Linked DNA regions of Homo sapiens: region 1 is linked to region 2. Evidence: promoter capture Hi-C in 16 types of primary human blood cells and fetal thymus (Javierre and others, 2016). All regions are on one chromosome and are shown on one strand. The core of a region is centred on a gene start or on the middle of the fragment in contact, and the rest is flanking DNA. Distances in the headings are between cores, read along the strand shown.

Region 1 (5,287 bases), core at 2,310-4,809, 160 kb before region 2:
CTCACATAAGTGGAATCATACAGTATTTGGCTTTTCAGAAATGGCTTATTTGGTTTTGTTTTTTTTTTTTTTTTCAGACAAAGTCACCCAGGCCGTAGTGCAATGGCACGATTTTGGCTCACTGCAACCTCCACCTCCTGGGTTCAAGTGATTCTCCTGCCTTAGCCTCCATAGTAGCTGGGATTATAGGCATGGGCCACCATGCCCAGCTAATTTTTGTAATTTTAGTAGAGATGGGGTTTCACCATATTGCCTGCCTCGGCCTCCCAAAGTGCTGGGATTAGAGTTTTGAGCCACTGCACCTGGCCAGAAATAGCGTATTTATTTATTTATTTTTGAGACAGAGTCTCTCTCTGTCACCCAGGCTGGAGTGCAGTGGTGTGATCTCAGTTCACTGCAACCTCTGTCTCCTGGGTTCATGCGATTCTCGTGCCTCAGCCTCTGAGTAGCTGGCACTACTGAAGCACCATGGATTACAGCCACCATGCCTGGCTAATTTTTGTATTCTTAGTAGAGACAGGGTTTCCCCATGTTGGCCATGCTGGTCTCGAACTCCTAACCTCAAGTGATCTGCCCGCCTCGGCCTCCCAAAGTGCTGGGATTACAGGTGTGAGCCAGCGTGCCTGGCCTAGAAATGGCTTGTTTGACTCAGCATAATGTCCTCAAGGTTCATCCATGTTGTAGCATGGGACAGGATTTCCTTCATTCCCAACGCTGAATAATATTCCACTGGACACTTGGATTGTTGAGAATAATGCTGCTATGAATGTGGGTGTACAAATGAATCTCTCCTCAAGACCCTGCTTTCAATTCTTCTGGAGATATGCCCAGCAGTGGAGTTGCTGGATCATATGATATCCTATGTTTCATTTTTTAGGAACTGCCATACAGTCTTCCACAGTGGCTAGACCATTTTATATTCCCATCATCAGTGCACAAGAGTACCACTTTCTCCACATTCTCGCCAACACGTATTTGGTTTTTTTTGATAATCCTAACAGGTGTGAGGTAGTATCTTATTGTGGTTTTGATTTGCATTTCTTTAATGATTAGTGACCTTGAATACCTTTTTTTTTTATGTTTGTGGCTGTGTGCATCCTGTTTAGAGAAATGTCTGTTCAACTCGTTTGCCCATTTTTAAACCTGGTTATTTGTTTTTTTTGTTTTTGAGTTGCAGGAGTTCTTTATATATTCTGGACTAACCCCTTTTCAGATATATGACTTGCAAATATTTTCTCCCATTCTGTGGGTTGCCATTTCACTCTGATTGTGCCCTTTGATGCACGGAAGTTTCTTTTTTCTTTTTTTCTTATCATGTCTGCTGCTAATTTTTGCCCTGAATTGCTGCAGTAAGACTACAGCAGCTGATGTGATTCACTAGAAATAAGTTGCATTTCCTTTGTAGACTGGTGATACAGAGAAATAAAATTAGATTTTCTTTTAAAAATTTTATGTCTAGTTGTAACTGAACCCAGATTTGGCTGCTTACTGCTCAAAAGCCAAATACGAGAGACAAGAGTTGGTGGCAGGTTTATCTGGAGAGCCAGCAAACCAGGAAGATGGTAGATAAGTGTCTAAAGTGCCGTCTAAGTCAGTACAGGTTTCGGGTTCTTAATTATGTTAAGGGCAGTGGGAAAAAGAGGCTGTTGGGATCAAGAGGTAACCAAGGACCAGTGACATCTGGGCACCAGTGAAGGTCCTAGGAGGTTGGGAACATCTTTGTCCTTGATCAGGTCGCAGTGCTCCTATAAATCTTTAACAAAACATAGCTAGTTGTTTACATGCTTTCCTTTTAATCCCAGAGTTAATTTCAAAGCTACACGTTTGCTCTTTTTGCATATTATCTTAATGCTCTAAAATTATCCTAGCCTCTGTGTAAGAATGGATAAAGGCCCCTCAAACAAAAATGTTAGTTCTTTTGCTGTTTCACTGCTACAGACTTTTTTTTTTTTTCTTGAGACGGAGTCTTGCTCGGTTGCCCAGGCTGGAATGCAATGGTGCGATCTCAGCTCACTGCAATCTCCGCCTCCTGGGTTCAAGCGATTCTGCTGCCTCCGCCTCCTGAGTAGCTGGGATTACAGGCACGTGCCACCACGGCCGGCTAATTCTTTGTATTTTTAGTAGAGATGGGGTTTCACCATGTTGGCCAGGCTGGTCTCAAACTCCTGACCTCGTGATCCACCCGCCTTGGCCTCCCAAAGTGCTGGGATTACAGGCTTGAACCACCTTGACCAGTCAGACTTTATAATTGGTTTTAGTAACTCCTTCCATTCATTTACTCATCCACTCACTCACTGAGCAACCACGTGGATACCAGCATCTTCTTGGACAGTGCCAGGTTCTGGGGTACAGAGGTGAATAAGCGGTGCCTGAGATAGACCCGGCTGCAGCTCTGCGGCCTCTGTGACCTTCCCTGGCCATCCCTGGGCACCGGGGCTCTTAATTCTGAGTCCCTGTCACCAGACATGATCGCAGTTGTCATGTTGTGAATTATCTGCGCATTTATTCCCTGGTCCCTGACTGTGAGCTGCCTATTGCTGCATCTTAGTCATCTTTGCGTGTGGCAGCGGAAGACGCTAAATCCACCTGGACGTCTTGTGAATGGAGGCACGTCGGGAACGCGCCTTCCCGGCTCAGGTGGCCTCCTGAGATGCACTTTCTTTTTTTGCTGCAAGACCTAGGCCTTACCCTGCCTTCCTCTTCTTTTTCAAGTGGCAGCCTCTCCTTCTACCCTTAGGATTTTGCTCCCTGCGGATTGATTTTAAAGTGACACTAAGCCACTTCTCACTAACCTCAGGAGGGCAGTGGGTTACTGTTCATTACTACTGGTGGGGCTGAGGGCCACCTGGAGACGGTGAGTAGAAAGTTCCACAAGCTTGACTTTTACATTTTGTGGGGATCGAATCTTCCTTTGTGGTTCAGTTCTCCCTAGTCCCCACTTCCACTGACATAGGGTCACCCGGGCTCTTTGGCTGTGGACAAGACAGATAGCTACAATTGGAGGCAAAAATACTACAAACAGACAGTGTTTATTGAGCACTGATTCGGTGCCAGGCCCCACCCTTTAAGTGCATCTACCTATTTCAATTCACTGAATGTTCATAGTCCACCTATGAAGAGAAACTATTGTTATCACAACTTACAGGTAAAGAAACTGACACTCAGGGAAGTTGTGTTTTGGGTAAGCTGATAAAAGGCTGAGCTGAGTTTCCACCAAGCAGTTCTGAGCAGTTGTGGCTCCAGGGAACTCTTAACCCTGTACTCAGTGCCCAAGGCAGAGGTGGGGGAAGGTGGCAATGTGGGGATCTCTAAAAGCAGAGTCGTCAGCACTAACTGATGAGGCTACCCACCTGCAGAGGAAATTCGATGCAGACACTTTTTTTTTTTTTTTAAAGACAGAGTTTCACTCTTGTTGCCCAGGCTATGGTGCAGTGGCGTGATCTGGGCTCGCTGCAACCTCCGCCTCCCGGGTTCAAGTGATTCTCCTGCCTCAGCCTCCCAAGTGGCGGGGATTACAGGCATGCACCACCACGCCCAGGTAATTTAAAAAAATATTTTTAGTAGAGACGGGGGTTTCACCATGTTGGCCAGGCTGGTTTCGAACTCCTGACCTCAAGTGATCCGCCCGCCTCAGCCTCTCAAAGTGGTGAGATTACAGGCATGAGCCACCGCACCTAGCCCAGATGCACTGTGTAAAAGTAAGATCTGGGGAAGATCCAGGTGATAGGAAGGTTTTTCAGGGACATGTCAGAATAGTAAGAGGAAACTGCTGATTGAGAAGAGGTGTGTGATGTGATCTTGTCTGCTCGAAGATGGAGAGTTGACAATAAGGATATGTCATCAGCTTTCATCCAGCACTGTTGTCATTTGTGACATTTTAAAGTGTCTGGAAGACTCCTCCGTGTCTGAGATGGGTGCTGAGAAAACACGTGCGTGGTTTCTGCATCTGGGGAGTTTACGGTCTGTACCAGTTAGCGAGCTTTTGTCTGCACCTGGTTTAGACAATAAAGAAACATGACTAAGCCCGGCCATTGTCTTGGCTCCAGGCACCTGATGGTCCTTGACTCGTCCTCCAGGTTCCAGTCCTTTCCCGGCTTTGCCATTCCTGTAGGTCCTGTCTTCAGGCAGGTAGCCAGATGGCTCAGCAGGTCCAAGTTCACATCCAGGCAGTATCCAGGGAAGGAAGGGAGACAGCCTTCCCCTGGAGCTCCTTCTTGGGAGTGAGCAGAGTGTGGAAGCTTGGAGGCCTCTTCGCAGACTCTCCCTCACCTCTGCTTAGCTAGAGTTGTGTTGGATGCTGTATGGGAAATAGGATCCCTATGATTGACTGAGACAAAAAAAAAAAAAAAGAAAAAAAGAAGAAAACCCAGTTAACATCGTCCTTAAAGGTGAATGACTAAATGCTCTCCCCCGAGACTAGAAACAAGACAAGGATGTTGGCTCTCACCCCTTTTGTTCCACATTGCACTGCAAGTCCTAGCCAGAGCAATTCAACAAGGAAAAGAAATAAAAGAGCTGGGCGTGGTGGCTCACACCTGTAATCCCAGCACTTTGAGAGGCTGAGGTGGGTGGATCACCTGAGGTCAGGAGTTTGAGACCATCCTGGCCAGTATGGTGAAACCCCATCTCTACTGAAAATAGAAAAATTAGCTGGGTGTGATGGTGTGTGCCCGTAATCCCAGCTACTTGGGAGGCTGAGGCAGGAGAATCGCTTGAACCCGGGAGGCGGAGGTTGCAGTGAGCTGAGATCACACCATTGCACTCCAGCCTGGGTGACAGAGCGAGACTCCGTCTCATAAATAAATAAATAAATAAATAAATAAATAAATAAATAAATGGCATCCACATTAGAAAGGAAGAAGTTAAATGATCTTTGTTTGCAGATGACATGACCTTGTATATAGACAAGCCTGAGGAAGCCACTAAAGTGGAATAATTAAAACAGGGATTCTCAAGGCACTCGAGTGCAGGAGACACTGTAAATGCAGGGGTCTGAGCGTGTGTGCGTGAGCATTGTGGGAAGTGTTTCCCAGAGAAGTTGTTTTACCTGGGCCCACCTGGAGGATGTAAACGTTTCACCAGGAAATTGCAGAGTGGACAATTGGCAGGGGGGCAAAGGTGGGCATGTCAGCAGAGAAGGATGTGCAACTGCAGGGGAGTGGTGAGCACCTGTGCCTGCAGAATATGCAGGGGCAGGGGTGGGAGGTGGACTGTGGAGGTGAGCGGGGTCCACAGGACGGAGCCCCTTGTAGGCCTTGCCCAGGAGCTTGGACTCCAGCTGTCAGGC
Region 2 (4,617 bases), core at 1,465-3,964:
AATCTCAGTGCTTGTACATGCCCTGAAAAGAGAATGTGTTAGGGAGGAAATGACCCCGGATGGGGAAACACGCAGCGGGAAGTCAGGGGACTTTCCCTATGGACACGGCCTCTCTCCATCTAGAAAACGCACATCGTGAGAATAGTGACCATCATCCTGTCTCGTGATGAGACAGCCTGAGGCTTTTTCTAAATAGGTGCTTCTGCTCTGCATGGAACTGCCTCTGTCTGGAGCTGACACTGAAAAGTCAGCTAATGCTCTGAGCCTTGGCATGTTGGACTTAACTAAACCTCGAGGTGGACGCATTTAATTTTTCCGTTCAATCAAAAGAGGTATAATCACAAAATTGTGAGATTCCCCTTCAAGTAGATGTTTTCCCGAGTGTTGGTTTACATCAAACATGAATCAGCTCGTTATTAACATGAGGTTTATCATAGAATAATAACACCTGCTGCTGGCTCTGTACTTAATATTCTGATCCTACACGCTCCGATCAGATATGGTGGGTGCATCATCCTAGTTTATAGATGTGGATATTGAGACACACGTTTCCACATCACTGACAAAACTGGAACCGGGAGCTCAAGTCTCCTAATATTGTTTGCAAAGTAGTATTTAATACCTGGGGAAAATGACATGAAATAATTATTAAGCCTTTGGATTTTAATCACAGGTCCCATCAACAAGATCAGAAGGAAAGGAAATTTCAACTATAGATTTAAATCTTCAGGTATTCTTTAAGGAAATAAAACAAGGAGCTGGGCTGAATCCAGCTATTCAGAGTCCCGCCCTCCCTGGGCCCCTCACCAGGCAGGATGCTTCTCTGTTCTCATCTCCTGGCCAGAACCACGTTCTCCACCCCAAACCGGTTGTCAATTTCATTGAGAAATTGGTTGCTCAATATTTATTGAGGCCTCTGTATTATTCCACCACTGAGGTGAGCTAGAAAATCTTCAAGCTATCTTTATAAAATGAGTTAGACAACTGGGACACTGCTCTCTGCATCTCTCTGTCTATGCTGGGTCCCCCTGAACTCCGGTGGGGTGACCCCCTTCCTTCCCTCTCCCTGCTGACCATGACCTTCCCTTTTGTACCTGGTCCACGGAGCTCCCTCTCTGCAGACCTCAGCCTCTCCCTCTGCTGTGGTGCTTCCGAGCCCTTTGCACCTCCCTCTGGCCCCTCACATGCAGCTCAGGGAGCAGCTGCCACACTAGGGCTGGCTGGGGCATCTTCCCTCCTCTCACTGCTCTGCCTGGTTTGCCCCTTGTGTGGTCCTGGGGGACTGAGCTGTGGGTCATGGAGTGCGTGGTTGGGCACCCCAGCCTCCGGCTTCCCTTGGAGAATGTGTGCAGCACCAAGGGGCTGGGAGGTGTTTGTCTGGCTGCACTTTAGGGAAGGAGAGGGCACTTGGTCTATTTGATGGGCTGAACAGGAGGGAGGTGGAATGTATAAACTTTCCCAGGGGAATAAAGGAGTTTGTTCCCTGTGTACGGGCAGGGGCTGGGGAGAAGAATGGGAATCTATGGAGATCAGAGGGGACTTGCTTGGGAAAGGCATTTTGGGGACTCCAAGGCAAATGTCCCCTCACAACTGTAGATCACATCAGTGGAAGGACTTGGGGATGGTCCCCCGAAAGCTTAGCTGTTGCTCTAAAAGTTGGTCAAGGCAAGTGGCCCTGGGGGTTTCCTTCCAGAGAACAGATCAGATTGAGGACCCCAGTAGGCTCCCAGATGGGTCTCTGTGCTTAGGGCTGATGCTTAGTAAAACCACAAGGAGGGCCAAGTTTGATGGCAGCCACCTGTTCTGCATCCTCCTGCACCTCTGCCTGCACCTTTGGGGTATGCTGGGCACTGAGGTCCCCCGTGTCTCGCTGCAGCAAAACTCCAGCTGTAACTGTTTGACGCCCTGTGAATGGAACGCCTGCCACTGAGCTCCCAGGGTGTCTGCACAGGGAACCTTGGACTTGGCGATGGAATTGAATTGTAGGAATCCCTGAGCTAGAAGGGAGTATTCTGGGGAGACAAAAAGTCTTTCCCTCTCCTCTGAAACTGCACGTCACATGTTCACTTGATAAACACCATCTCAGCACCAGCTATGGCTCTGAAGGCAGCCCTGGTCCCTTGCTTCCTTGAAGTTATAGGCAGTGAGCCCCATCCTCTGTCTCTAGACCCTGGCCTGGGAATCTCATGATACCCACAGTTGTGCCCTGGCAGAATCAACACTACCACCCACTTCCCTTCCACCAGCCCCAGCCTCAGGGCAAGAGCTAGGCAGTAGCACTGGAGAGAGGGGTACGGAAACACCAAACACTGGGGCCTGCTGTGCCCTTGAGGGAGCCCTCTTCAAGCCACCTCCCCCTCCAGTCTCAGTCTTTGTGAAGTTGCAGAAGCTGTCTTGAACCCCTTGGCTTGGTCAGGATCTCCGAGAATCAGCTGCAGGGGAAACTATCCCTTGGGCAGAATGTTCCTGGAGGGAGGTGGTTGCTATCAAGGCCAGGCGGGGTTGGCAGGCTAGCCATCCGATACCCCGACCCCATGGCAGTTCCCACCTGGCACCTGACAGCTCTCCCAACTCCCATTCCTGCATTTCCTGTCTGCAGCTGATCTGGCCCTCCCTGGGAGGAGGCTCTCACCCCAGGGCATTTGGAGGGTGGGGAGCCTCCCTCCTCCCTTTGTTCCGATTGCAGAAAAGGAGGGGGTTCCCATGCCAAGGCAGAACTGTCTGGGACAGACGCTGCCCGGATCCCTGCGGCTGCCTGCACTCTGGACCACGAGCTCTGAGAGCAGCAGGTTGAGGGCCGGTGGGCAGCAGCTCGGAGGCTCCGCGAGGTGCAGGAGACGCAGGCATGGCCGGTGAGCTGACTCCTGAGGAGGAGGCCCAGTACAAAAAGGCTTTCTCCGCGGTTGACACGGATGGAAACGGCACCATCAATGCCCAGGAGCTGGGCGCGGCGCTGAAGGCCACGGGCAAGAACCTCTCGGAGGCCCAGCTAAGGAAACTCATCTCCGAGGTTGACAGCGACGGCGACGGCGAAATCAGCTTCCAGGAGTTCCTGACGGCGGCGAAGAAGGCCAGGGCCGGCCTGGAGGACCTGCAGGTCGCCTTCCGCGCCTTCGACCAGGATGGCGACGGCCACATCACCGTGGACGAGCTCAGGCGGGCCATGGCGGGGCTGGGGCAGCCGCTGCCGCAGGAGGAGCTGGACGCCATGATCCGCGAGGCCGACGTGGACCAGGACGGGCGGGTGAACTACGAGGAGTTCGCGAGGATGCTCGCCCAGGAGTGAGGCTCCCCGCCTGTGTCCCCCTGGCTGCGCTCTGAGCCTTCAGGGCCACCGCCCGCTGCTGCTTTTGTGCTGGGACTCTCCGGGGAAACCTGGTCGGTGGATGGGAAACTGCCTCCCCCTGGGAGGAAGGCTTTGCGCTCCGGGGCCTGGATGCGGCGCCCTCGGGCCGCCTGCGAGCCCCTCTCTGCCTCCAGACCTTGGGCAGAAGGAGGCCTCCTTGGGCCTGGTCCCCCTTTGCCCTGCAGTGGAATGAGGGCCCCTCAGCCCCGCATTGATCTAAATAAAGGACTGCCGAGTTCCATGTGTGCTTGGTGTTTGTGGGGCGGCTGCCTCCGAGGGCCCCCACCTGCTTCCAGGGTTCCTTCCAGCCCACCCCTCTCACCTGCGGTGGCAGAACTGCCTGGAGCAGGCCCCAGGGGCAGCTCCTGCCTCCCCTGACGCGGAGCAGAGGGCAGGTGGGCAGAGGATGTGTGAGGATGGTGCTGGGCGGTGTCTGTGGCTCCAGGTTCTGCCTGAGCTGCTGGTGAGGACCTGGGCACGTGTCCCGCACAAACAGGAGCGGGCGCCTCGCATGGACAGACGGAGCCCAGCTGCCAGCCTCTGCACGCAGCCTGCCTCTCTTCGGCTGCAAATAATATACGTGTACGTCTGTGTGTGCATCTGTGTGTGTGTCTGTGTGTCTGTATGCGTGTCTCTGTATGTGTGCATCTGTGTGTAAGTCTCTGTATGTTTGTGTGTCTGTGTGTCCTTGTGTGCATCTGCATGTGTATGTGTGTATCTGTGTGTGTGTCTGAGTGTGTCTCTGTGTCTATGTGTCTGTGTGTGTCCATTTGTGTGTGTGTCTTATCTGTGTGTCTGTGTCTGTGTGTGGCTTTGTGTGTGTATCTGTGTGTGTGTGTCTCTGTGTCTATGTGTCTGTGTGTGTTTATCTGTGTGTGTCTGTGTCTGTGTGTGTGTCTGTGTATGTGTTTGTGTGTGTCTGTGTGCCTATCTGTGTGTGTGTGTCTCTGTGTCTATGTGTCTGTGTGTGTTTATCTGTGTGTGTCTGTGTGTGTCTGTGTATGTGTTTGTGTGTGTCTGTGTGCCTATCTGTGTGTCTGTGTGTCTGTGTGTTGTGTGTGTCTGTGTCTGTATATGTGTTTATGTCTGTGCATATGTGTCTGTGTCTGTGTATGTGTATATGTGTGTCTGTGTGTGGCTCTGTGTGTGTATCTGTGTGTCTAGGTATGTCTGTGTGTTCGTGTATGTGCCTGTGTATGTATCTGTGTGTATCTGTGTGTCTGTATATCTGTGTCTGTGTGTGTGTGTCTAGGTATGTCTTTGTCTGTGTG

Evidence for each region. The method cuts DNA at HindIII sites, captures the fragments that hold promoters and counts their contacts. A CHiCAGO score of 5 or more calls a contact.
Region 1: a fragment that was not itself captured here is called in contact with the fragment with the promoter of CALML5 in region 2 in 1 of 17 cell types (erythroblasts); the score reaches 5.1 in erythroblasts.

What each region holds. Positions count from the first base shown.
Region 1 is chr10:5,653,208-5,658,494 of GRCh38, reverse strand. The region is part of intron 1 of ASB13 (ankyrin repeat and SOCS box containing 13); the gene reads left to right. Among named protein-coding and RNA genes, the nearest start is that of ASB13, 11 kb to the left of the region's middle. The HindIII fragment of the contact is 1,363 bases long and covers 2,878-4,240 here.
Region 2 is chr10:5,497,667-5,502,283 of GRCh38, reverse strand. It overlaps CALML5 (calmodulin like 5), which reads left to right and starts at 2,714. Exons shown (of 1, transcript NM_017422.5): 1 at 2,714-3,587. The coding sequence starts at 2,846. The coding sequence ends at 3,286. The HindIII fragment of the contact is 4,911 bases long and covers 1,639-4,617 here.